Regions from separate parts of the Homo sapiens genome. Here region 1 is linked to region 2. The links are contacts of gene promoters, found by promoter capture Hi-C in human tissues and cell types (Jung and others, 2019). All regions are on one chromosome and are shown on one strand. The core of a region is centred on a gene start or on the middle of the fragment in contact, and the rest is flanking DNA. Distances in the headings are between cores, read along the strand shown.

What was found. The method cuts DNA at HindIII sites, captures the fragments that hold promoters and counts their contacts. A contact is called where the count stands out against the background at its distance.
Region 1: a fragment that was not itself captured here is called in contact with the fragment with the promoter of OR5H6 in region 2 in 1 of the 25 tissues and cell types used here (liver).

Annotation. Positions count from the first base shown.
Region 1 is chr3:98,219,073-98,221,933 of GRCh38, reverse strand. No RefSeq gene overlaps it. Among named protein-coding and RNA genes, the nearest start is that of OR5H6, 44 kb to the left of the region's middle. The HindIII fragment of the contact is 5,010 bases long and covers 1-2,861 here.
Region 2 is chr3:98,262,982-98,265,839 of GRCh38, reverse strand. OR5H6 (olfactory receptor family 5 subfamily H member 6) reads right to left here and starts at 1,596. Exons shown (of 1, transcript NM_001005479.2): 1 at 484-1,596. The coding sequence starts at 1,507. The coding sequence ends at 578. It also overlaps a transcript of LOC105373999 not described here. The HindIII fragment of the contact is 14,089 bases long and covers 1-2,858 here.

The DNA of each region.
Region 1 (2,861 bases), core at 345-2,844, 44 kb after region 2:
TCAGAGGTTTCCTAAGTTTATTTATCAGTGCTATAGTTGATGAATATACATTTGAGGCATTAAAGAAATAAAAAATGATAAATTTTAGTTTGACAATTTTTCAGGAATTAATAGATTTAGATTAAAAAGATGGATTCTCTACATATACTAAATTTGTGTGTGCACTATGGAATGTGGCATAAATATCCTGTGTCTGGTACATGGATGCAATGTTAATGGAAAAGGATTTTGAAGGTTTTGGATTAAAAATAAATAAAATGAATGCCATGTGAAAAATCTTAAACTTCACTCTTCACATAATAAGCATGCACCAAATGTTTTAAGATGGGAAATGGCATCATAACATATTTTTTAATTTAGTGATTGATAGTGTAGAAAATGTGCTACAGGAAGGGGAAACTGACTCATGGATATTAACCAAAAACTTGTTACTAAAGTCAAGGTGATCCCAAATCAGATTACACATGAGAATCACCTAGCAGTGTTTTTTCTATGAAAAATACAGATTGCAAGGTTTTAATGTGGAAATTATTTCAGAAACAGAGTCTAGGGATCTGCATTTTGAAAATACCCTCAAAGCGATTCAAAAGCATATTAAGGGTCTAGTCCATGTGATGTCATTGGAGGAGATGGTAAGTCAAAGAAATAGATTCAAAAGAATTCAGAATGTAGAGTCCCTAGTATTCTGTGACATATTTGGTGAGAAAAAAAAGTGGTTAATGAAGGAGGGAAGAGTCACTTGGTGACTGGGTAAGTGGTCATTAAATATTGAGGATGGGAACTCAGTTGCGCTGGCAAGTTTTGGAGTGAGCATCATGTGACCAATTAGGTGACATCCAATCAGTAATGTGAACCTACTATAGCTTCATAGAAATAATTACTTGGAATCATTGTGGTAGTCAAAGACATAGTTAAAAATGATGTATCCATTGGAGATTAGACAAGTAAAAAAAAGAATGACAAGAAAATAAACTTAAGGAAATTATATTAAAAGAGGTAACAAAGTGGATATGCATCCTTTAGAAGATGGCCAAAAGCTGATCCTCTTTTTTGCCACCCAAGTCTTGGCGGCTGTCAGAGGTTACCTACTGTTCTAAAAGCCAAAGAACTAGAAACTCATTTTCCCATTCTTCTTGCTTCTAGAGTGAAGAGACATGATCTAGGATGGCCAATGAAACACACTCATGCTACATTTGGAATATGGAGAAAGAGGGAGAAAATAGTTTAGGAACAAAGGCAGATTTTCTTTGCAAAGTCAGCCAAGGCAGAAATACTAGGACTCCACCTAACGCATCTTTCATCCACAGTAAAAACATTTACAGTGTGAGCTGTCAAATTATTGTTAAAATGGGTATAAGTTTACAAGGGTTAATATGTAAGTGACTCACCTTAAAAGCTTTAATCAGAGGATGTAATTAAGTAAAAGAATGGGTATTTGTATCAGAAAATTTAGAAATAATTCTAAGAATCATTATGATCTGAATCCTTAAACCCAGTTCTAATTATTTAACGTACTAGTTCACCAGAAGTTATCTTATAAAATCATTATAACGTTAACAAAATACTAAAATATCATCAAAATAACAATTTAGTCTTATAACTATTTACCCTATCCATATTATAGTCATGAAACTAAAATATAAAGATAACCCAATATTTGTTGTCTAATTTCAACCTGGTTATTTAGACAGATTGTGTACCCAATGTAAAATTATAATGAAATAAATAACACTTTTAACATTTCTATGAAGCATAATGAAAATTATAGAAATTATTTCTTCCTTACCCATATTTTGAAAGAAATTGTGGAGATCCTTTAAAACTATTAGGCTCTCTGGCCAGGTGCAGTGGCTCACGCCTCTAATCCCAGCACTTTGGGAGGCCAAGGCGGGTAGATCACCAGAGGTCAGGAGTTCAAGACCAGCCTGGTCAACATGGTGAAACCCCATCTCTACTAAAAATACAAAATTAGCCGGGTGTGGTGGTGTGCGCCTGATAATCCCAGCTACTCGGGAGGCTGAGGCAGGAGAATCTTTTGAACCTGGGAGCCAGAGGTTGCAGTGAGCCAAGATAGCACCATTACACTGCAGCCTGGGTGACAGAGTGAGACTCTGTAAAAAAAAAAAAAAAATTAAAAATAAAAAACATTAGGCTTTCTAAAACAGAAATAAAATATAACAACACAGGAATGCCAACAATTCATGGCATATTCATTCTTTTTGGATGTTTCTTTTCCCATTCTCAGGAAAATGTTGTTAATATAAATTTGAATTGAACATAGAATCATTCAGTAGTACAACTCTGTACTTTTGCCAGAAGATGAAGGAGCAGAAAAACCAAAATTCTCATAAGAGTGCCAGAAGACTCCCTGTAGGACAAATCGATGCTGTTCTAGTGAGCACGGTGGATTTGGTCATGTATGAGAAGTGCAGGTTGTCTCAAATGGCAGTACAAATTCTGGAATCATAACCATCATTTCAATGTAGACACTTCCAGTTTTAACAATTGACATAGTACTTATGCCACTATTTACCACCACAGGTGGCACTTCTGGCATGTTTGTGCAAGTTTTAGTTCACATATGAAATCTACTCTTAGTGTTTTGATTAGGATGGTCTCCTCCGAAGTAATCAAAACATAATTTTAACAAGGCCAAAGTCTCTGATTCCCTCAGGAGCCAAACCCAAATACGGTTGTCTTCCCCATGCAAATTACAGCTCAAATTTTTGACATAAACCTTGTTCCCCTGTTGTAAGCTAAAATCTCATGGGAAACTTTATTAGGCATAGTTCAACAGGAGAGCAAATCGAAAAACACAGACACCACACTGTAAGGTGTCCTATATCTGTGCTGCTCAAACT
Region 2 (2,858 bases), core at 347-2,846:
CATAATTTTTTTCTATTTGCCTTTGAAATCTTTGTCATTTTGGTATTCTTTCAATTTGTGACTATATTTAACCAATTATTGCAGGTCAAGACAAATGGTATGTTCTTACTGTGACATCACAGCCTGGGGAGTTAGCCTGGAGAGGCTATGATGTCTAATTAAAGATTAAAGTCTAATATGAGATTATTTATTAAAGGTCCTAACATGGCCAAATTAAAAAGAGATGGTCAGTCGCTATTTTTACTGCACTTATACTCAAGTCCTTATTAGATGACCTAGACTATTTTAGCATTTAATGCATTTATAAAGCCACATTGAATAACATACGACTTTGTAAAATATTTTTATTTTCTTTCTGCTAATATTATTCAATTATGATATGAACATGATTAAAATTTCTTAAGTGCTATTGAATAACATTAGGGATATATTTATTAGTTTAATAGGTACTAAAACCTTAGGCCATTAAAGTGCTAGGACTTTGCATCATCTTTGAATGCTGGCAAGACATAGACACCTCTAACTTGCACAATCTTGGGACAATTTTAGTAAATAGAGAAGAGAGATTGTATGAGATCTAAACATTGCTTTTGAACATTTTTGTGAATGAAGCTATTACTTGCTTGTTTCTCAGGCTGTAGATCATGGGATTTAATAAAGGAACTATGACAGTGTAAAATAGAGACTCCATCATATCTTGGTCATCTGCTTGCGGAGATGCAGAGCCCAGATATTTGAAGGTGAGGGGGCCATAGTATAAAGATACAGATAAGAGATGAGCCCCACAGGTGGAGACAGCTTTTCGTATCCCTTTGATAGACTTCTTTTCTAAGATTGTAAAGAGGATAATTGTATAAGATATAAGAATAGTTCCAATGGTAAAAACTTGAACAGAACCTGCGAAAATAAAAACCATTAGAAAGTTAATAGAGGAATCAGTACAGGAAATCTTTAACAATGGGATAATGTCACAGTAAAAGTGTTGTATTATGTTGGAATTACAGAAGGTTAATCTGAATGAAAAAGCTTCATGGATTAAAGCATGAAGAAGGCCACCTATAAATGACAAGACTAATAGCTGAATGCATAGTTCATTGGTCATAATGACTGGATAAAGTAAAGCTTTGCAAATGGCTACATAGCGATCATATGCCATTGTTGCCAAGAGAAAACATTCTGTGGTTACAGTGGTTACAAGGGAAAAAAATTGTACCATGCATTCAGAGAGAGATATCATCTTACTCTTAGCTAAGAAGTTGATCAGCATCTTCGGAGTCACTGTGGATGATAACGAAGCATCCACAAAGGCTAAACTCCCAAGGAATAAGTACATTGGGATATGAAGGTGAGGGTCTTTCCAGATGAGAACAATTAGACCAAGATTCCCCATGATGGTGATGAGATATATTACCAAGAATGCCAGGAAGAGCGGTATTTTACAGTCAGGTTGATGTAAAAATCCTGTGAGAACAAACTCTGTCAGCAATGTTGCATTTTCCTCTTCCATCTCCTCACTGCATGTCCTCTGAAAAATGAAGCAAAGGTAAAGGAACATTTGCAATGGAATTGTGAGTTGAAATTGGGGAAGAGGTGTTGAAATAAACTATGTAATTATCGAGCCCTCTTAATTTTTTTTGATCAGTGCTATAATTGATGAACCCTATATTTGAGGATTTAAATACATGGAAATAATAATGAATTTGGTTTGAAAATTGTGTAGGAGTTAACAGACTGAGAGTTAAAAAGACGCATTATCTGAATGTACTAAATTTTTGTGGACTCTACTGAATGTAATGAAAAAAATCTGTCTGGGACATGGATGTAGGGTGAAGGAAAAAAGATATTTGAAAGACGCAGGTTAAAATAAATGGAATGAATGCAATGTGAAGAATCTCAAATTTTATTCTTCACACAATAAACATGCACCAAATATTTTAGGATACAAAATGGCATCATGATATATTTTTAAAATTTAGTTCTTGGTAGTGTAAAAGTATGCTGCAGAAAGGAAACAGTGATTCAGGAGTCCTAATTAGAAACTTGATACTAAGGTCAAAGGGATCCCAAATTAGATTACACATGAGAATCATCTGGGAGAGTATTTTTTAATGAAAAATACAGATTGTGAGGTTTTATTGTAGAAATTGATGATTTCAGGAATGAGGTCTAGGAATCTGTATTTTGGAAATACCCTCAAGTGATTGAAATGCATGTGAAGTCTCTAGTCCCAGTTTGAAATGACACTGGAAGACGTGGTAGGACAAATGAATAGATTCAAAGGAATTCGAAATGTAGAGTCTCTAGTATTCTGTGACATATTCAGTTTGAAGTATGTGGTCAGTGAAGGAGAGAGAAGTCACTTGGTGACTAGATAGGTGGACATTAAACATTTAGGATGAGAACTCAAATTGCTGGCAAGTTTTTGGAGTGAGCATCACATCTGAACAACTAGGTGAGATTCAATCAGTAATATGGGTCTATTAGAGCTTAATAGAAGTAATTACCTGGAATCATTGTAGTATTTGAAGGCATCATTAGAAATGATGTACAAAGTGGATATAATCTTTTATAAGATGGTCAAGATCTAATCCTCTTTTTTGCCACCCAAGTCTTGGGGGCTTTCTGAGGTTACCTATTGCTATTGCTCTAGAAGCCAAAAGGATTAGAAAGTCATTTTCCCATTCTTCTTGCCTGTAGAGAGAAGAAACAGTGACCTAGGACGGCAATGAAACACATTGATCCTACCTTTGGAATATGGATAGAAGAAGAAAAGTGGATCAAAAGTGGATTTTAGTTGTAAATTCAGCCATGACAGAAATACCATGAATCCACTGAATGCATCCTTCATCTATATCAAT